7 separate regions of the Homo sapiens genome follow, and regions 2, 3, 4, 5, 6 and 7 are each linked to region 1. The links are contacts of gene promoters, found by promoter capture Hi-C in blood cells and fetal thymus (Javierre and others, 2016). All regions are on one chromosome and are shown on one strand. The core of a region is centred on a gene start or on the middle of the fragment in contact, and the rest is flanking DNA. Distances in the headings are between cores, read along the strand shown. Region 1 holds the start of KCTD21 (potassium channel tetramerization domain containing 21). Region 2 has its middle 17 kb from the start of NARS2. Region 3 holds the start of NARS2 (asparaginyl-tRNA synthetase 2, mitochondrial). Region 4 overlaps RSF1 (remodeling and spacing factor 1). Region 5 overlaps NARS2 (asparaginyl-tRNA synthetase 2, mitochondrial). Region 6 overlaps NARS2 (asparaginyl-tRNA synthetase 2, mitochondrial). Region 7 overlaps NARS2 (asparaginyl-tRNA synthetase 2, mitochondrial).

Region 1 (2,967 bases), core at 327-2,826:
CAGAATCTCCTAGGACCTGAGAAGAAGGCTTCATGGTGTTACTCAACCTCTCCCTGCTCCAGGTCAGAGCAGCCCCTCCCAGCCTCTGCTCAGCACCTAAGAGCTGAGGAGCACATTTCCTCCCCTCTCTGACCCTCGAAGCCAGCCTCCCTCCTTTGACTCCCCTGGGAGCCAGAGCTTCCTTGGGGGTACCAGGCTGCCCCTCCCGACACCAGGTGGTGCCCTCCATCTCTGGCCCCTCAGGTGTCTGAATGGCAGCATCTCTCTAGGTATTTTTTAACTGAACTTCTACCCAAGGCAACCCTGGGAAGAAGTGCTTCACCCTACTCCGGGAGGCCCATGTCTGGGCCACCAAACTGTCTCCTGGAAAGAAAAAGAAAAAAGGGTTTCACTGGTAAAAAGCAGCTGCTCTTCCTCAAAGGATAAGGAGGAGAGAGAAGGGAAGAAAGCAGGAGCAGCTATTCCTCCTCAGGAACCCACCACACACACCTATCCCTGCGGGGCCACCCCTCACAAACCTGTGAGGGCCGCACTCCACCCCAAGCTTTCTGGAAGGAAGGGCACCAAGCTGACACATCAGGGTCTCCGGTTTGCAAGGGCCAGGGCCGTAAGAGGGGGTTGGGGAGGGTATCCCAGGGCCCAGCACACTGAGAATAGGAAAAGCCCATTCCAAGCAATGGTGGCCTCGGGCCCCCCAGTTTGTGCCACCTCCCTCCCTCCAGTGCACCCGCGCCCAGCCCACGCTTGAGCTGGAGGGCCCCACGAAAAGCCAGCAAGCGAATGTACTAGGTACTGGGTGCGAATGCCCTCTTACCTGAAAGGGGAGGGAGCAGGATCACTTCGACATACAATTGATGAAGGGAGGGGATTAATGCCCAGAGAGGAATAGCTACTCGCCCAAGGTCACACAGTGAGGCCCAGGAGGCCCAGGATGCACCCAGATCTCCCGACTCCCAGCCCTGGGCTCGCAAGTCCAGGGTTCTCGAAAGGCCAGGGTGCAGACACCGCCCCCCAAAGACAGTCACACGCCCCCAACCCCCTTACCTCCCGGACCCCGGTGGGCCAGAGCCGGCTGCTGGGCGGGGCGCTCAGGCCGGGCAGGACGAGGCTGGGCCCGGCTAGGTCAGGGCTGGTCCTCTGCTCCCCCCAGGGTGGGGACGCCCTCAGCCAGGTCCCAGACGGAAGAGATGCTGCTTCCACTGCAAAATCCAGTCTTCCCACCCCGCCTGGCACAAGCCTCTATGTATCCAGGAAGCCCGACTCTGCGGCGCGGCCCCGGGGCTGCGGGATGAAGCATGGGGAGGGGCGAGGTGCGTGAAATGGGGCGGAGCCGGAGCGGGGGCCACCCCGCGAGCTGCCACTCTGACCGCGTCCCCTTTAAGGCCAGCCGGCCGGACACCGGCGGGGACGAGGCGGGGCGCAGAGCAACTCGCTGCAATGCCTCCTGGGAGATGGAGTTCGCTCTCGACGCGCCGAGCTGCGAGGAGCCCAGAGAGAACTACCAGTCCCGGAAGGCAGCGCACAGACCCCGGACCGCCACGCCCCTGGGCTGGGCTCCTACCCTCCGCCCCCCTCGCAAAGCTGCGCTGGCCGCTCGCGGAGGGAGAGGCTGCAGAGCGAGGGCAGGAGGTGGGTGCGGCACGGCCGGGGTCGCGGGGCTCGGGGACTACCGGCGAGGGTACGTGGGCCCACTGAGCACCTGTCTTACCATGAGACTAATCTATCCCAGCCTCGCCATTCCCATCTGTGAAATGGGGATGGCATCGCCTGTGGTGCGGGGGAGGGGGCGCGTTTCGGAGCGAGGTGAGCCGAAGTGGGCAGAGCTCTTAGAGGGGCGGGGCTGTTGGGAGAGCAAGGGCGGATGGTGATAGTCGGAAAAGCCCGGATAATGAGGGTCGGGACTGTGGGAGGAGTCCTTGGTGGGTGGGGCAAGGAGAGGCGGGATCTCTAGGTGGGGGTGGGGCACTTGTCAGGTCGGAGTGGGGGCTGTAGGGCTGGGGAGTGGGTGCGGAACAAGCCGATGAGGCCAGCCTGGGTGAGATTGGGGAAGGAAGGGCGGAGACACAGATGACAGGGAACTTGCCCCGCTCTGGAGAGCCCTGGGCCGGCCGCGCTGTGGCGGCGTGGGCAAAAGCCTGTGATGCATAGAACACCTCCCTTTACTGACTGGAAATAAAGAGTCCATCCCCGAGTTCAGTGCGGCACACCAGTGATCTCATTGACCTCCCACGCCCTGAAAAGTAGAGGCGTCACTATAGCGGTTGACAGGTGAGGAATGTGAGGCTCAGAAAAGCGAAGGGACTTGCCTAAAACCACTCAGGACTCCTTACTTCAAAGACCTTGCTTTTCTCCCTGCACTCGGGGAGGCAGAGGTTTAGCTTGGCGTGGGAGGCAGGAAAGAAAAGTTTTGATGCCCCGACCTTCGCAAATTGTCTGGCAGGACCAGTCCCCCCAACCCTTCCGAATGACAGCCTGTAAGGCAGCCCTCCTATAGTACTGTGAGGATGAAATGAGATGGATTTGAAAGCACGGTGTTTATAAATTACTGTTTGGAGGAGACATAGGAAGAGAGCGGTTTGAAATGGGGTGCTGGTGCCGGAGGAAAAGCACAAGGTGAAGCGTGAGAGTGAGCCGAGAAGGTGAAGGAAAGTTCTGGAAGGGGCTGGGGGATGGTAGTGGTTGTTGGAGGTCTACGCCAGATGAAAGAATACCTTGCCGTGCCAGATTCCGTGGTCTCCTTCTTCCAGCCCACCTTTCTCTCCTCCTGCCTTTTGCGCAGCTCATTCTGGGGTCCCTGTGTCTAGGAAGCACCTTTTCTCTCCTCCCTATGGGTTGTGATGGTAATAGAGCAGCCTTCGGATTTCTTAGAGATATGGACTGGGCAAGACAGAATTATAGACGCAGCTCTTTGATGTGGGGTGGTCAGGAAGAGGAGGTGAAGAAAGGGTAGTCGTCCTAGGGGCTTCA
Region 2 (2,967 bases), core at 323-2,822, 400 kb before region 1:
TAGATCTTTCCCTTCCGGTTTCTGGTCTAGCAAGTAAGGAGCTTGGAAGTCATCACTCCTGTCTTCACAACAATAAAAAAGCTAAATAAACTGAAAATCAGTTGAAGTAACAGGGCACACTTCTGTCCCCCAAACTGGAGAGACAAATGGGTAAATACAGAGAATCACAACTTACTGGAATAGAAGCCCAGGGGCAGAAAACTCTGCAAGAACGAGTACTGGGGAACGAAAAACCCAAACTATAATAGATGAATTGCTGGAGGCTCTGTGTGGACAAGTTTGAAAGTTAAAAACTCCAGGGCATGTGGCCAGTCATACTGGATTTTACCTCCACTTTCGTGAGTTTTACCTCCAAGAACCCTACCAGGTTCTCAGGGTGAAGATCAGCAAAAAAAAAAAAAACAAAAAAAAAATCCTCATGCTTCTGGCAAGAGGAGGGGAAAAATAGCCATTCGAAATATGCCAAAGTGTCCAGCTCTTCTTAACAAAGCCTGCTCTCAATGGAAACTATGTTATCAGAGGCTAGCTGACTGGATTTTACCAGAGACTAATCACAGGAGAAGGAAAATACCCAACTCCAGCCCCTTTTTGCCAACTAAAGCGGGAAAGAACTGAGAAGCGCTTGTGAAAGGTGCAGCCCAGGAGCACAGGCTCGCTAAAGTCTAAGACCTAATCACAGGTCTATAGAATTCTTCCTCTCTCTCCACACCTCACCACTATATCAACAGGACTTATCTGTATGATAATAAGGGAGTACAACAGAAATAACTGCATGTTATTTCTGAGACCTCCCAAGAAGTCTCTAGGGAAATCCAAAGATAACAGGTGAGACAAAAACAAGGACACCGGAGGAAATTTTTGCCTCTGACTCCCACAGCTACAACAAACAGTAAACACAGCCTAACTTCTAACTAGATAAATAAGATAAATATACAACTTCCCACTGAAGACTTATTTACAGGCCGGGTGTGGTGGCTCACACCTGTAATCCTAGCACTTTGGGAGGCCAAGGAGGGTGGATCACTTGAGGTCAGGAGTTTGAGACCAGCCTGGCCAACATGGTGAAATCCCATCTCTACTAAAAATACAAAAATTAGCCCAGGTGTGATGGCTCGTGCCTGTAGTTCCAGCTACTTGGGAGACTGAGGCTGGAGAATCACCTGAACCCAGGAGGCGGAGGTTGCAGTGTGCCGAGATCACGCCTCTGCGCTTCGGCCTGGGTAACAGACCGAGACTCCATCTCAAAATAAATAAATAAATAAATGAAAATAAAGATGTATTTACCTCAGTTCCTTTTATCCACTACATTGTGTCCAACTTTCAACAAAAAAATTAAAGATAAAGATTAAAAAAAATAAAATTACAAGATAAACTAAAAGACAAAAAAAAAAACACAGTTTGAAGAGACAGAGCAAGCATTAGAATCAGACTCAGATATGGCAGAGATGTTAGAATTATTAGACCAGGAATTTAAAACAATGGTGATTAATATGCTAAGGGCTCTAATGGAAAAATCAGATCTTTCTTATCACCAGACAAACATGCTATTATTTCTCACATATTAAAGAAGTCCGCTTTCATGACCACATTCTTCCACCAGTTACCACCTCAGTTTTTCTGCTCCCCTTACAACAAAACTTCTTGAAAACCCTGTCTCCAATTTCTCTTCTCCCATTCTTTTTTACATACCATTTTTATTATAGAAAAATCTCCAACATGAATAGTACAATGAATTCCTGTGTATGTTACCCAACTTCAATATTTTTCAACATTTTACCAGTCCTATTTCATCTATTCCATCTATACTGTTTTATTTTTTTTCTGAAATATCTAAAACCAAATTCTAGATATCACATTTCACCCATAAATTCTTTAGGATTGTATCTTTAACAGCGAAGAATTTTGTGCATAATTCCTCAATATCAACTAATATTAGGAATTAAAGGACGTCATTACAGATCCTACAGACACTGAAAGAATAATATGAACAATTTTATGCCAAGAAATTTAGCTGCTTAGATAAATTTCTCAAAACATACAACTTACAAAAACTGACGGAAAAAGAAATACAAAATCTGCACAACATCATATTTATTAAACATGTTAAATCTGTAATTCAAAACCGTCTCATAGGCCGAGTGCAGTGGCCCATGCCTATAATCTCAGAACTCTGGAAGACTGAGGAGAGGGGATTGCTTGAGCCCAGAAGTTCAAGACCAGCATGGGGAACATAGCAAGACCTTGTCTCTAAAATAATTAATTAATTTAATTTAATTTAACTTTCTCATGAAGGAAGCTCTAGGCCCACATGACTACACAATGAATTATATTCAAACACTTAAAAAGGAAATAATATCAATCTTAGAGAAACTCAAAAAATAATACTCTGTGCTGTTGAACTATTTTTATGTCTTTAAAAAATATATCTTTTCTCTGTTGACTTAAGTCATAATCCAAGTAAGCATTCATGCATTACATTTGATTGCTATGTGTTTTATTTTTCCTTTAATCCATAATGTCTCCTCTCTTTTTTTTGAGATGGAGTCTCGCTCTGTCGCCCAGGCTGGAGTGCAGTGGCATGATCTTGGCTCACTGTAACCTCCGTCTCCTGGGTTCAAGCGATTCTCCCACCTCAGCCTTGCAAGTAGCTGGAATCACAGGCACGTGCCACCATGCCCAGCTAATTTTTGTATTTTTAGTAGAGATGGGGTATCACCATCTTGGCCAGGCTGGTCTAGAACTCCTGACCTCAAGTGATTCACCGGCCTTGGCCTCACAAAGTGCTGGGATTACAGGCGTGAGCCACCACGCCCAGCCTCTCTTAGCCATTTTCAAGTACACAGTACATTATTATTAGCTGTAGTCACCATTTTTACAATAGATCACCCGAACTTACTTGTGTCTAACTAAAACTTTGTACCTTTTTATCAGCATCTCCCCATTCCTCATAACCAGACCCTGGTAATC
Region 3 (2,967 bases), core at 333-2,832, 390 kb before region 1:
AACCTTCCGTGTTCACCTTCTGGCAGGAAATTTTCTTACATGCCTACCTGGCAAAATATTGATCCACTTCAAAAATTCAGCTTAATTTTCTCCTTCTCTAGACTATATTATATTTTATCCAACATATTTTATATTATAAGTATATAATATATAATATATCCAATATAATTTAATTATATATTATAATTTATAATTATAATTTTATTATATTTATAATTTTAATTTATTAAAAGAACCAGGGAACACATTTATATTATATAAAATATAAAATTGTGATACATGTATATATTATAATTGTATTATATTTTATCCAATATAATATTTGGATAAAATATCAAAAATAATTTTTTGGATAAATTTAAGAGGTAGCCTAATATATAAGGGTGACTTTTCAGTCCAAACAAATGCAGACAACTCATACATCTATGTGTGCACTTACTGGTTTATATTTCAGTAGTCTCTTTTCTTGCTTGTCTCCATCTCTAAAGCATGAGCTCCTTGATGGAACAGATCACCTTGGGACACTATGTAATACAGCATACTGCTTAAGTGCATAGAGCCAGCACTTCTGGGTTTAAATCTCACACTTAGGGAATGTGTATCCTTAAGTAGGTCATCTAGCCTTTCTGTGCGTAAGTTCTCTCATTTGTAAAATGGGTATAATAATAGTAGCAACTTTAAGTAAGGTAAAAGTGAGAGAGAGAGAGTGAGAGTGAGAGGGAGCGGGAGAGAGACAGCGAGGGCGAGCGCTGGTCTTGAACTCCTGGGCTGAAGCAATCCTCCTGCTTCTGCCTCCCTAAGAGTTGGGATTACAGGCGTGAGCCACCGCACTTGGCCAAACGTTTTACTTTTTAAATTAGATTAAAAACCTTTTAATGACCGTCATTGAGTTACAGAATTTTTTTTTTAATAAAACGTAGCCTAATATATAAAAGGGTCATTGTTTCCAGGTCAAACAAATGCAGATAGCTGTGTTGGAGGGCAGAGGGAAGAGGGAGACTTGGAGGATTCTGGCAGGAAACACTCGAGTTTCCTCCAGTCTCTGCAACATCTTCCCACCGTCTTGCCTGCCATATGCAAGGTCCCTCCAGTTCCTTTTATTTACCTGTCAGAGGACTACTTTCTCCAGGAAGCCATCTCTGGCGTCCCACGCTTAGGCTCTGTCAGGCAAACTGATCGCCCTTTTATGCAACTGTCTGTTTAGCTGTCTGATACCACACAACTGTGACTTGCGCATTGGGGCTATGTCTGATTTTTCTCTGCGGAGTACTCAGGAAAGGAACGACTGATCTCTTCAAGCGAATCCTGTTAACAGCTAAGAGCCTCCTCTTACTTGGATCCCTATTGTTGACTGATGGAGACGGTTTCCCTCTCCATCAGTCACTCCTTGCCTCTCAGTTTCTCAGCCTCACCTGGAAACTTTAGAAATGAAGACCCTCAGATGTGCTCCCACGTTCTTTCAGCGATAATCTCTACAACCTTAGGGCATTAGCTCCGCCCCGTCTCGGCTCCTGACCCCGCCCCCTCCCGCACGCCTCCCTAAGCCTGGGTCACAAGTACGCATGCTCTCCCTTCTTCCCCGTAGCGTGATGACGTAAGCGGCGTTGGCGTGGTGTGGTAGGAGTGGTTGCGCGTGTTGCGGCCCGGGTTCTGTTCGTAGGTTTACAATTGTCGCGGGTAGTGGGGCGCCCCAGCTGCCAACTGCACGTGGTTTCTTTCTGGCGTTTGCCTAGTGTCCTGTCCATTCCGCCCCGTTGGGAAGTGGGAAGCGGAGAGGTTCTGTGGGGACAGAGCTGGGAGTCCTGAAGGAGAAAGCGCGCAGCCGAGGGGCTCTGGAGTGCCTTAGAGCAGAGCTGCGGCCGCGGAAGGGGAGCAGCTGAGAAAGGAGGGCCGCTGCAGGCGGGGTTCGAACCGTGGGGTCTGGGCTGCTCCCGCGGAGGGCCTGGGCGGACGCGGGATGCTGGGGGTCCGCTGCCTGCTGCGGTCCGTGCGCTTCTGTTCCTCCGCCCCCTTCCCCAAGCACAAACCTTCAGCCAAACTGAGCGTGCGGGACGCTCTCGGGGCTCAGAACGCGAGTGGGGAGCGCATTAAGATCCAGGTTGGTGAATGGGAAGGGAGTGGGTTTTTTCTTGTAGGGACTTTTATATGGCACATCCACATCTAGCTTTTCTTTTACAGTCGGGTCAGACACAACCGCCAGCAGGGAAAAGTTAGAAAGTGTAGGCGTCGCGGGTTTGCACTTTTCTGATTTCCATTACTTTTCACAAAACTGTTCCGATAACTGTAAAGCGCTGGAACTTTGCTTTCATGATTCCAGGGTATTACCTGTAAACTTGTTAATCATACCAAAAGTGTAAATGAACAAGCCCCCTTTCTCTATCTTTATCCCTTATAATGAATATCCAGGTTTATAAAGTGGTTGTCTTGACCTCCCTCCTTGAGAGCAGAAACCGTGTCTTACCTGCCTTTGTATTCACACATGGCTGACAGCAAATACTTGTTCAAACCATGCCTTTTAAACTTTTAGCGACCTCAGTGCCTATTGTGGGGGTCTGCATGTAATTTATTTTTAATGAATTCGGAGAAAGACTGGAATGTAGCAGTTTGAAAGAGCTCTGGAGTTAAGCTGCTTAGGTTTAAATCTCTGCATAGCGTTTATGCGTTCTACACCTTATTTTCCTCTTATGGAAAGAGATAATAATTGTCCCTGAGTCCTGAAAATTAAATGAGGTAATGGAAGTAAGATATTTAGAACAGTGGCTCATAGTCTACAAATGTTAGCTGCTATTGTTTCTCTTGCTGATTATATTATTTGCAGCAGCTCCACATAGAAGAGGTGCAGAATAAACAAGGTGTTTGACTGTTTCTTATTAGGTTGCTGAAGTACACTGATGTGGTTATTTATTTTTTGAGACAGGGTCTAGCTCTGTCACCCAGACTGGAGCGCAGTGATGTGATCTCAGATGA
Region 4 (2,967 bases), core at 140-2,639, 380 kb after region 1:
TCAGCCTCCTGAGTAGCTGGGACTACAGGTGCCCGCCACCACGCCCAGCTAATTTTTTTGCATTCTTAGTAGAGATGGGGTTTCGCCATGTTGGCCAGGCTGGTCTCAAAAACTCCTGACCTCAAGTGATCTGCCTGCCCCGGCCTCCCAAAGTGCTGGGATTACAGGCATGAGCCACCACATCCAGCCCAAACTGATTTTAAGAAAGAAGAGCATGAGGGCAAAACTTGACAGCAGACAGACCAGGCTTCAGCCTCCTGTAGTTGAACAAGGATTGCTTGAAGAGCAACATGAAGTATATAATGTATATATGGCTCATGTAAGCAAGAGTTCCTCCAGAAAGCTTTCGTAGTGGAGGTTGAGTCTGTATTTAATTTTAGACTCTAAGCTTTATTCTCCAGTATTTGTACATGTTTATCTTAATCATTTTCTGAATAGTAGGATTATACAGTTTTTTCCCTTTGGTTTTTCTTATATTTTTTCACATTTCATTTTCTATGTTAATTGTGCATTTCTTTGATAATCACCAAAAAACTATTTAAAACTAGATTTCTAAAGAGGCTTTTTAAAAGGAAAATTGAATTTCTGCTTGTATTTATGTACTCTTATTTTTATAGACAGGGTCTCACTCTGTCACCCAGGCTGGAGTGCAGTGGCTTGTTCTCTGCTGACTGCAACCTCTACCTCCCAGACTCAGGCGATCCTCCCATTTCAGCCTCTCAAGTTGCTGGGGACTACAGGCATGTGCCACCACACCCAGCTAAAAATTTTTTGTATTTTTAGTAGAGACAGAGTTTCATTATGTTGCCCAGGCTGGTCTCAAACTCCTGGGCTCAAGCAATCCACCTGACTCAGCCTCCCCAAGTGCTGGGATTACAGGCGTGAGCCACCAAGCTCAGCCTATTTATTTATTCTTAATCTTGAATTACCTCTTAAATGAATGTTACTATCATCTACCCAAGTCACTCAGATCAGAAACCAAGGAGGCATCCTAGACCTTAGCCTCTGACACTTTCTTTGATACCAAGTTATATTGAGTCTGTTTATCCCCTTTTATATTCAACCTTGCTTTTCTGTTCTCATTGCTAGTTTTAATCACGCCAAACTGCTTTTACATCTCTGAAGATGTGAAAGGTTGTTTTACATTTATGCTTTTTCTTCGTCCTCCTGCCTCTGAGTCGAATATACCATCCCCATCTTCCTTCCCTTGCCTGCTCACTGTACCCGTCATTAGTCTGCTCTTTAAGCATCAAATGCTCTGTGGAAAATTTCCTTCTTTCTGTCTCTCAAGTTAAATTAACCACTTCAATCTCCTTACCCTGCACGTACACTTTGTAGATTTTATGCCACAGTACTCATAACACTTTTTGCAGTTACTGCCTAGCCTACAAGATGGTAAACTCTTTGAGGACAGGGTTTCTTACTTTATTTTATCACCAGCAATTGGTGGGTAATAGCAAATATGTAGTAAATGTTTGTGGAATTAATAGTTTTCCTCAACTTACTATAGGACCATGTTCTGCTCTAAAACTTTGAAGTTAAAGCCTAGTCTGTGATAGCTTAGTACAGTGGTGGGCAATCTACAGCCTGTCCTCTCTATCTTTGTAAATAAGGTTTTACTGGTATACAGCCATGTTCATTTGTTTACATTCTGTTGTCTGTAGCTGCTTTCACACAACTGTGGCAGAGTTGAGTGATGGTCACAGAGAACATATAACTTCAAAACCTAAAGTATTGGGCTGGGTATGGTGGCTCATACTGCAATCCAAGCACTTTCGGAGGATTGTCTGAGTCCCAGAGGTTGAGGCTGATCATGCCACTGCACTCCAGCCTGGGTGAAACAGCAAGACCCTGTCTCAGAAAAAAACAAAACCCAAAACCTGAAGAACTTATTATCTGTCTAGCCCTTTACAGAAAAAAATTTACTGATCTTTATTCCAGTGTATGAAGATGGAAGTCTTATCAGATGATGATCTCTGTTTTTGAAAATACATTTAGAACCAGTATAATACAAATTTCCAGCCTCGCCAACATGGTGAAACCTGGTCTCTATTAAAAATACAAATTAGTTGGATGTGGTGGGATACACCTGTAATCCCAGCTACCTAGGAGGCTGCCACACAACAATTGCTTGAACCCAGGAGGCAGAGATTACAGTGAGCCATGATTATGCCATTGCACTCCAATCTGGGCAACAGAGGGAGACTCCACCCATCTCCCCCCCAAAAAATAAAAATAAAAAGGAACCAATATAATACAAATTAAATGCCTAGAATGTCCTGTGAATGAAACTTAGTGGAACAGTAGTCTCCCCAGTATTGATCTAATTTTACATCCAACTGTTTTAGTATTAATTACTCCTCTTGGGTTAGGTGAGTCTAAAAGCTTTTTTGTTAACAAGGTGATGACATTATATTGAACTAAATTTCTTTCATTCAAGAGTAGCCATGGCTACCTCTGCCTAATTGTCATAAGGCAATGCCAGGATGGGAGCCATGTGACATGGTAATTGGTAGTGAGGGTAAGAGTTGTTGTAACATTGCTGCTATACTGGCCTCAAAGTCTTATCCAAGTGGACTGATTAGGGGAGGGTAAGGTTGGATGAATGGTGATGCCGTGTACTCAGATGGGAAAGGATGTAGTTATTAAAGGTAGAACTTAAAAGATTTACTTAGGTTACTTAGAGGACACAGGACTGGGAAAGAATGTACTAGATAATAGCTTACTAGTAAGTGGGATTAAATGCCTTGGTCATCAGTGTATTTTGCAGCAAAAGTGCAGTACTGGTTATGAAGCTTAGGCATGTGTTATGCTAGATATCTCAGGGAGTTTGATACTTACTCTTTTCCTTTTGTCCTTAGCATCTTCACAGTTGGCTCTGCAAATAAATATAATTGCCACTTCTTCAATGTTTAGATGTTAAAAGTGTTTTAGGAAAAGAAAATTAGGTAGAATGAGTTATTCCAA
Region 5 (2,967 bases), core at 165-2,664, 350 kb before region 1:
CACACCCAGCTAATTTTTAAAGTAGAGTCAGGGTCTCACTATGTTGCTCAGGCTGGTCTTGAACTCCTGGTCTCAAGCAATCCTCCTGCCTCCACCCCACCGAAGTGCTGGGATTTATAAGTATTTATTGAGTACCTGCTGTGTTTAGTGGTAGTCAAGTCCTTTGTGTGGATACGTGGTTTGGAGACTTAACTCTGGAGCATAGGTATCCCTTCTCACAGAAGTCCTAGTTAACGGACTAGGACCATATCTTATCATATTCATCCTTAAAGCCCCAATCTGACAATGAATAAGCCAAAATTAATATTTTTCAAGCAATAGTGAAAAAAAGTTTGGTTCATTTTTCACCGACCCCTTTACATTTAGGAATAAGTTTGCTGTTTTGCAATTTTACATTTGTGTTTATCTCCTGTAAAAGAAAAATAAGGCAGCATTGTATATTCACTTTCTGTTTTGCCTCAACCTTACCCTCTAATATTAGACTCCACGCGTCTTTTCTTGATTCATTCTTTCTCAGACTGCTCAGCAGGAAAACACTGTTTACAAACAGTCTGACTTAATAACTTCCTTTCCTGCTGATCAAATAGTTGTTTAAATGAAACCTTTCTCAGGGCTGAGTGGGTGTTCTAGTTAGTGGGTGTTCTGGAATGTAAATGAACCCTTATTTTAAGAAAGATTATTTTTATACTAGCAGTTCTGTGTACACCAAGATACACATTTGTAGCAAGTGGAAAGTATGGAAACATAAACTGGACTTATTGGAAATTTTTAGATTAGTGAAAGACCTACATATATGGCTTGTTAATAGGCAAATCCCAAAACTAACATAACCGGCAAAATAGAATGCAGTTTATTGAGCCTGTTTCCCTTGGCTTTGGTTTTTACGTATGAGATGCAGTCTAATGGCATGCAGAACAATTTCTGCAGCAATGATAGCAACTGCATTTGAGATACAGCTTGATAGGGATCATGAAACTACCAACCCACAAATCTTTGGAGACTGTATGACAGATTTAGTTCCTATGATTGATTGCTTGGTTGGTTGATTGATTTTAGAGGCAGAGTCTTACTCTCTCACCTAGGCTGGAGTGCAGTGGTATGATCATAACTCATTGACCTCAAACTCCTGGACTCAAGTGATCCTCCTGCCTCAGCCTCCCGAGTAGCTGGAATTACAGGCACCCTCCACTACACCTGGCTTGTTTTATGTTATATGATCAGCATTTCATACTTAGGAGAGACTAATATTAAAAGCATTTTAATCCAAAGCTTTATTTCAACACTACAGGATAAAAAATGCGAGAGCTGGGCACAGTGGTATATGCCTGTAGTCCCATCGGAAGGCAGAGGTGAGAGGATCACTTGAGCCCAGGAGTTCAAGACCAGCCTGGGCGACATAGCAAGACCTTATCTCAAAAAAAAAAAAAAAGTGACATGACTTATTGGAAAGGTGATTGTACTAGAAGCTGAGAAACCTGGATTCTACAACTGATCTTACCAAAAAGTAGTTGTATATAACATTTATTCTAACATTTGACATTTAACATTTTTAAGCTTTAGCATCTTTTACAAGAGGGAAGTTGAATTAAAATTTTTTTTTTTGAGATGGAGTTTCACTGTTGTCACTCAGGCTGGAGTACAATAGTACTAGTTTCAGCTCACAACAACCTCTGCCTCCCAGAGTCAAGCAATTCTCATGACTGAGCCTCCCAAGTAGCTGGGAATACAGGCGTGCGCCACCACGCCTGGCTAATTTTTGTATTTTTAGTAGAGATGGGGTTTCACCATGTTGACCAGGCTGGTCTCGAACTCCTGACCTCAGGTGATGCGCCTACCTTGGCCTCCCAAAGTGCTGGGATTACAGGCGTGAAAAAATTAAAGTTTTATCTAACTTAGATTTTTTTATTCTTTACTATCTGTATCGTGAAAGGCATAGCCTCCCTCTAATCTCTTAATTGGGATCAAGAAAGAAAATAGGATATTCAGTGGTTATATGGAGCTTACAGATGGTGAGTACTCTCCCTTTTCTTCATGATCTTCAAAGGAAATTGCAGATTGAGGTAAACAGGACAATAGCATGCCATTATGATTTTAAACCTTTTAAATTTCTGAACCATGCTTCATCTTTATGTATTCTCTTCCCAACTTTTTGTCTCTGGGATTATGAGTAAATAGAACTGGGTAAAAGGTGGGGGTAGGGTACAAAGTAGAAAATGGAAAAAGTAAAAGGAGATAAAAATAGATTGGGTGTTTCAGTGATTGTAGAGGTCAAATAAGTTTTCCATTGTTGATTATATTCCTTTCCACTGTTCAGCTTACTGCTATTTACTCTCGCTCCTTGCTATATATTTTACATGGAGACAGAGTCGGACTTGTGTGGGTTTTTCTATTTAATTCTCCTGAGATTGTGAAACTGCTCAGCTAAATTTGTTCTGCTGTGAGAACAAATAACTGGAGGGCAATTCAAAATACTTGTTTAATATTTTCTTGGAAATCCTCAAAGAAACAGGGAGGATTTTAGATCCGTGTGGTAAGAAATTCACTGGGATACACACATTAAAAAAATTTTTTTGGTAGCTCTTGGTTTCCCCTTTCTTGGCTGTGCTATTTACTGTCTTCCAGTGGCAGAATAACCTAGCAAAAATTTTTGTTTTGCATAATAGAGAAAGGCTAGGTTAAGTTTTATTGCACTAACGTAAGTTTTATATGATCAGGGAAAGGTTAGTCTATCATGGACTGTTTAGGATGGGAGGTAATCATCCTTTATATTGATTTTCAAACATTTTTGTTCAAAAGTGTTTTCCAAACAAAATCTTATACCAAGACCCTCTATAGAAGATAGATAAAAGGAATGACTTTGTTTATCAGATAGCTCAAATCCACGTGGTTTTGTTGATAGACTATATGAATGCCTTAACAGAGCATTGGGAACTTGGGAGATTGCAGGAAAAGGCTTAGTTACGCAGG
Region 6 (2,967 bases), core at 160-2,659, 330 kb before region 1:
GCCATCTTGTAGTTAATACACAGAAGTATAAATAAAGGGACAGTGAAGATCAACTTTATTAGAAATTTTCAGGAGAATTTAAACATAGCAAGTCAAAAAAATTAAATTGTTATATTGAGAGAGAACGTATATGCCCTAAAATTCACCAATTTGAAGTGTGCAATTCAGTGGGTTTTAGCATATTTTGAAGATATTCAAGTATCACTGACATAATTTTAGAATACTTTCCAATATTTATAATTTTAAGGTTTTATCACTCCCAAAAGACAAATTTTTTCCATTAGCATTCACTCCCTATCCTCTTCTTTGCCCCCACCCCTGGGCAACCACTAATTAAGTTCTCTCTCTATGAGTTTACCTATTCTGGAATATTTATCGTATATAGATAGAATCACACAGTAAATTGTATTTTGTGACTGGTTTATTTCATTTAGCAAATGTTTTCAAAGTTCATCCAACTTGCAGCATGTATCAGTACTTCATTCCTTTTTATTCCCAAATAGCATTCCATTACATGGGCATATAATATTTTGCTTCATTTATCAGATAATGAGCATTTGGGTTGTTTCTACTTTTGGCTCTTGTAAGTAATGTTGCTGTGAACATTTGGGTGGAAGTTTTTGTGTGGACATGTTGTCATTTCTCTTTGGTAGATACCTAGGAGCGAAATTAATGGGTCATGCAGTAACTATGTTTAACTGTGTGAGGAATTGCTAGTCTGTTTTCCACAGAGGCTGGACCATTTTACAGTCCCACCAGCAATAGCAAAAGCATTCCAGTTTCTCCACATCCTTGCAAATGCTTATTATTGTCTTTTTATTGTAGCTGTTCTGACAAATGTAAAGTAGTATCTCATTATGGTTTTGACTTGCATTCCCCTGACTACTAATGATGGGTTTTCATCATTAAAGTCAATGAGCACATGAAAAGGTGTGGAGCGTCTTTCCATGTGCCTGTTGGCCATTTGTATGTATTTTATTTGGAGAAATGTCTATGTAAGTCCTTGAGTTATTTTTAAAATTGGATTGTCTTTTTATTGAGTTTTGAGAGTTCTTTATATATTCTGCATACAAGTCCTTTATTAAATATATGATTTGCAAATATTTTTTCCCTGTTTGGTGGATTTTCTTTTCACATCCTTGATGTTGGCAAACTCAGATTTTCATTTTCACTTTTCTGGGTTTTGAAAGTACTCCAGATGGGCATAGCCTATTGAATTCAGCAAACTGCTGAATACTGCCATGCATGAACCTGGAACATATGCTGTCCTTTGAATACTGATTCCAGATTTTTAATACATCTTTAATAGGCTCTAACTTATTATTACTTCTGAAACTTATACTTACATTATAAAAAAAATGCTTTTGAGTATTTTGTCCCCTTATAATTTTGTTGAAGGAAGAGTGGCCATCTTTTTTGCCCCATAATTGCAAAACATTTTTATTTTTAGATTGTACACCAATTAGAATGATCAAATTAATGAATTCTTCTGTTTCTACATCATCTTTTTTTTTCCTAAACACCTTTATAAAATACTTGCTTCAGCATTTGTTCACTTATTAACCTTAGTAAGTAAATTTTGGTGTACAAATATCATAAATGATGAAGGAATATTGCCACATATCCTTTTAGAAAATGGGATGGTCCAAATTCTTATAAATTATTACATAATGAAATCCTTCTTGTGGAATGACTCATTGGATGGAAGTACTGAATTTGTTTTTTGACTTGAAATGTATTTTTCACTTAACAGTTCTTATGTTTGAGAAAATTCACTTAGATAGGTATCATTATCTGAAAGCTCTTTGTCTGAGATTTCACTTACACAACCAATTTTACCATCATCATTAGAGAGTAGATTGTCAACCAGGCACAGTGGCTCATGCCTATAATCCCAGTGCTTTGGGAGGCTGAGGTGGAAGGATCACTTGAGACCAGAAGTTTGAGACCAGCTTGGGCAACACACGAAACCTTATCTCTACCAAAAAAAAAAAAAAAAAAATTAGCTGGATGTAGTGGCACATACCAGTATTCCAAACTACTTGCGATGCTAAGGCAGGAGGGCGCTTAAGCCCAGGAGATTGAGGCTGCAGTAAGCTATGATTATGCCACTGCACTCCAGCATGGGCAACAAAAAGGGGAGGAGATTGTTGCTGCCTCTTTGCATTCATGTTCTGATTTGTCTAATAACTATGAAATACCTTTATCATTTTAATTCTCTTTGTTAGTGTGAGTGAAAAATAAAGATCTGAATTCTGAACTGTGATCTGCAAAAACTACAAAAAGGCTACAACCATGTATCCGGGCTTTTCTTTTTTTTTTTTTTTTTTTTGAGACGGAGTCTCGCTCTGTCGCCCAGGCTGGAGTGCAGTGGCGGGATCTCGGCTCACTGCAAGCTCCGCCTCCCGGGTTCACGCCATTCTCCTGCCTCAGCCTCCCAAGTAGCTGGGACTACAGGCACCCGCCACTACGCCCGGCTAATTTTTTGTATGTTTAGTAGAGGCGAGGTTTCACCATTTTAGCCGGGATGGTCTCGATCTCCTGACCTCGTGATCCGCTCGCCTCGGCCTCCCAAAGTGCTGGGATTACAGGCGTGAGCCACCGCGCCCGGCCCCGGGCTTTTCTTATACCTTCTTTAAAGATGACACAGGCCTGGCGCAGTGGCTTAAGCCTGCAATCTCAACACTTTGAGAGGCTGAGGCAGGAGGATCACTTGAAGCCACTAGTTCAAGACCATCCTAGGCAACATAGTGGGACCTAGTCTCTACAAACAAACAAACAAAAAAACCAAAAACCAAGCATGGTGGCATGTGCCTGTAGTCCTAGCTACTTGGGAGAGTAAGGCAAGAAGATTGCTGGAGCCCAGGAGTTGTAGACTGCAGTGAGCTGTGATCACAACACTACACTCCAGCCTGGGCAACAGAATGAAACCCCACCTCTTAAAAAAAAAAAAAAGAAAGAGAGAGA
Region 7 (2,967 bases), core at 265-2,764, 280 kb before region 1:
CGTGAAATATCAGGTCACTGGTTAACTAATTATGACACATCCACAAAATAGAATATTATGTAATACAAAAAGTGAAGAATGTCTTCATATACACACAGATCTGCAAGGTATATTAGTAAAATTAGGTGTGAAAGAGTGTGTATGTTATGTATGACATCTGTAAAAAAGGAAGATTGTGTATTATTTACATTATCTGTATAAATAAAATCCTCTAGAGGGATGTTCACAATACCAATAACAGTGATTGTGTGAAAGGAAAGGAACTAGGTTTCTCTGGAACCGCAATGGAAGGGAGATGTATACTCTTATACATCTTGATTTTTTTTAAAACTATGTAGACAAGTTACCTATTCACATAGTTAAATTAAAACAAATACTTGCTTTGACTTACTTTAGGCATGAGGGTGTCTCATGGAGAGAATCAGTATTTTCCTACATAGTCTTATAATGCTTAGAATATATTACCAGGCCCTTACTATGACCTGAAAGAGTCCATGTGATCTGACTTCTGACTGCCTTTCCTATGTAATTTCCTGTGCATTCTTCCTCTTGTTCAGTATGCTCTAGTCACGCTGACTGCCCTTTTTGTTCTGTGAACAAGCCAAACTGTTTCTCACTTCAGGTCCTTGTACTTGCTGTTCCTTTTGCCTGGAATACTCCTCCCAAGATACTTCTATGGTTCATTTCCTTACTCGGTGCACGCTTCTGTTCAAATGTCACAAACTTAGGCCTTTCTTGACCATCATATCTAAAATGGCACCCCAAACCCCCTCTGCCTTCTTATTCCACTTTATTTTTCTTCATAGCACGAATAGCTACTTGTTTATTTATCTGTCTACTCTCTCCTCACCTGCATCTCTCGCTCTCTCTCTCTCTGACACACACATGCGCGCACGCACATTGTCTCCATGAAGGCTGAGCTTTATTTTTATCTCCAGTGCCTAGAATTGTGTGTAGTGCCTAGTAGGTGCCAAGTATATGTCTGTTGGATAAATAAATGAATTAATGGTGAATTTTAGGAAAAAGTATTTTGCTGTTGTAGTCTTTTAATAGGGCATTGGCATATCATGGATTCAGAGAATAATCTTTACTTGCTTAAGTGACTAGCTTCACTGTGTATATTGCAAGTAGATGAGGAGTTGAGGTTATTGAATGGTTACTTGTCTTCAGGCAGATCATTCTTTCATAGGATTAGATCAGCCTTAATTCCTGATTATTCATGACCTCACAGTGTGATATAGGAGTACGCTTTTTCTGGTTTTAAAATGAACTAGTTAGCAGCTCCATTGTATTGACTTTTCTCTGCTTGTATCCTGTTTTCCTCCAGCATTTCTTATACTGAAGCAGTGGAGATCTTAAAGCAAGCATCCCAGAACTTCACCTTTACCCCAGAGGTAGTATTTTGTGTGTATGTATATATGTGTGTGTGAAAATGCTTCCTTCTTGTCTTTAGCTTACTGTGTTAAGAATCTTTCAAAATCATCTTAATTCTCTTATTAGCAAAATATGGCATTTGCTCATTTGTACACAGACTTAAGATTTTGATGTTTGCTGAATCTTGTTGAGATACTTAAAACGGAATTAATTAAGAATAAAAATAAATTTTATCATTTGGAATAGCAGTGACTAAAGGGTTATAAAGGAGTCTCCCACGTTTAGGAAGATGAAAATTCTAAAAAAGAAAGATAATCATAGACTATTACTGTAGAGACCAGGTGTTGGGGCTCACGCCTATAATTCCAGCACTTTGGGAGGCCAAGGCAGGCAGATTGCTTGAGCCCCAAAGTTCAAGACCAGCCTGGGCAATACAGTGAGACCCTGTCTCTACCCAAAAAAAAAAAAAAAAAAGTGAATTTTTAAAAAAAGAATATTACTGTAAAAGTCAACTAGTTCTGTGTTTTCCAAAATATATTCTGAATGACATTAAAAGATGACCAGGCTGGGTGCGGTGGCTCACACCTGTAATCCCAGTACTTTGGGAGGCTGAGGCGGGTGGATCACAAGGTCAGGAGATCGAGACCATCCTGGCTAACATGGTGAAACCCCGTCTCTACTAAAAATACAAAAAATTAGCTGGGTGAGGTGGCGGGCGCCTGTAGTCCCAGCTACTCAGGAGGCTGAGGCAGGAGAATGGCATGAACCCGGGGGGCAGAGTCTGCAGTGAGCAGAGATCACCACTGCATTCCAGCCTCGGCAACAGCGAGACTCCATCTCAAAAAAAAAAAAAAAGATGACCAACAAAAGAAGTTATATTATCAAATAAGTTTAGGCAACATAACTAAACAGGTGTGTTTTTCTTTTTCTTTTTTTTCTTTTTTTTTTTTTTTTTTCAGATTTAGTGCTTGCAGAAGCAGGTTTGTTTTTCAGTTGAACTTTACGGAGCCTTTTAGTTTATGAGCCACTCTGGAAAATACTGGGGTTTTTTTGTTTGTTTTGCTTTTAAAGAACTTTATATTTAAGAGATGGAGGTCTCGTTATGATGCCTGAGCTCATCTTGAACTCCTAGGCTCAAGGGATCCGCCACTTCAGCCTGCCAAGTAACTGGGACTAGAGGAGCATGCCTCAGTACCCAGCCAAGAATTCTTTTTTTTTTTTTTTTTTCAATACTTACTTGATAAACAAAGATTGTATAGGCCGGGTGTGGTAGTTCACACCTGTAATCCCAACACTTTAAGAGGCCAAGGTAGGATTGCTTGAGCCCAGGAGTTTAAAATTGCAGTGAGCCATGATCGACTACAGCCCTCCAGCCTAGGTGACAGAGAAAGACCTTGTCTCGAAGAACAACAACAAAAGAAGATTGTATATATTCAGGGTATACGACATGATGATTTGATACATGTATACATTGTGTAACAGATTATCATAATCAAATTAGTTAACACATCTGTCATTACCCACACTGTACATTAGATCCCCAGAACTTGTTCATCTTATAACTGAAAGTGTATACACTTTGACAAATATCAC

What was found. Contacts are between HindIII fragments. The CHiCAGO score rates a contact against its expected background, and 5 or more counts as called.
Region 2: a contact is called between a fragment that was not itself captured here and the fragment with the promoter of KCTD21 in region 1, in 3 of 17 cell types (monocytes, neutrophils and naive B cells). The highest score is 7.3, in monocytes.
Region 3: the fragment with the promoter of NARS2 here is called in contact with the fragment with the promoter of KCTD21 in region 1 in 17 of 17 cell types (fetal thymus, total B cells, neutrophils and 14 more); the score reaches 35.7 in fetal thymus.
Region 4: a fragment that was not itself captured here is called in contact with the fragment with the promoter of KCTD21 in region 1 in 2 of 17 cell types (fetal thymus and activated CD4 T cells); the score reaches 6.5 in fetal thymus.
Region 5: a contact is called between a fragment that was not itself captured here and the fragment with the promoter of KCTD21 in region 1, in 9 of 17 cell types (total B cells, naive B cells, neutrophils and 6 more). The highest score is 13.0, in total B cells.
Region 6: a fragment that was not itself captured here is called in contact with the fragment with the promoter of KCTD21 in region 1 in 3 of 17 cell types (naive B cells, neutrophils and monocytes); the score reaches 7.2 in naive B cells.
Region 7: a contact is called between a fragment that was not itself captured here and the fragment with the promoter of KCTD21 in region 1, in 10 of 17 cell types (neutrophils, naive B cells, total CD4 T cells and 7 more). The highest score is 14.8, in neutrophils.

The regions. Positions count from the first base shown.
Region 1 is chr11:78,187,235-78,190,201 of GRCh38, reverse strand. KCTD21 (potassium channel tetramerization domain containing 21) reads left to right here and starts at 1,576. Exons shown (of 2, transcript NM_001029859.3): 1 at 1,576-1,629. USP35 (ubiquitin specific peptidase 35) reads right to left here and starts at 1,283. Exons shown (of 11, transcript NM_020798.4): 1 at 1,045-1,283. RefSeq lists silencers at 930-1,089, 1,520-1,859. The HindIII fragment of the contact is 4,363 bases long and covers 547-2,967 here.
Region 2 is chr11:78,590,857-78,593,823 of GRCh38, reverse strand. No RefSeq gene overlaps it. Among named protein-coding and RNA genes, the nearest start is that of NARS2, 17 kb to the right of the region's middle. The HindIII fragment of the contact is 7,888 bases long and covers 1-2,967 here.
Region 3 is chr11:78,573,479-78,576,445 of GRCh38, reverse strand. NARS2 (asparaginyl-tRNA synthetase 2, mitochondrial) reads left to right here and starts at 1,582. Exons shown (of 14, transcript NM_024678.6): 1 at 1,582-2,098. The coding sequence starts at 1,958. RefSeq lists enhancers at 1,287-1,426, 2,087-2,196. The HindIII fragment of the contact is 10,208 bases long and covers 1-2,967 here.
Region 4 is chr11:77,809,826-77,812,792 of GRCh38, reverse strand. The region is part of intron 1 of RSF1 (remodeling and spacing factor 1); the gene reads left to right. Among named protein-coding and RNA genes, the nearest start is that of RSF1, 9.4 kb to the left of the region's middle. The HindIII fragment of the contact is 1,997 bases long and covers 391-2,387 here.
Region 5 is chr11:78,539,796-78,542,762 of GRCh38, reverse strand. The region is part of intron 5 of NARS2 (asparaginyl-tRNA synthetase 2, mitochondrial); the gene reads left to right. The region is part of intron 1 of NARS2-AS1 (NARS2 antisense RNA 1); the gene reads right to left. Among named protein-coding and RNA genes, the nearest start is that of NARS2-AS1, 8.1 kb to the right of the region's middle. The HindIII fragment of the contact is 285 bases long and covers 1,272-1,556 here.
Region 6 is chr11:78,521,155-78,524,121 of GRCh38, reverse strand. The region is part of intron 6 of NARS2 (asparaginyl-tRNA synthetase 2, mitochondrial); the gene reads left to right. Among named protein-coding and RNA genes, the nearest start is that of NARS2-AS1, 11 kb to the left of the region's middle. The HindIII fragment of the contact is 7,149 bases long and covers 1-2,967 here.
Region 7 is chr11:78,467,674-78,470,640 of GRCh38, reverse strand. It overlaps NARS2 (asparaginyl-tRNA synthetase 2, mitochondrial), which reads left to right. Exons shown (of 14, transcript NM_024678.6): 10 at 1,328-1,394. Among named protein-coding and RNA genes, the nearest start is that of LINC02728, 39 kb to the right of the region's middle. The HindIII fragment of the contact is 4,339 bases long and covers 1-2,967 here.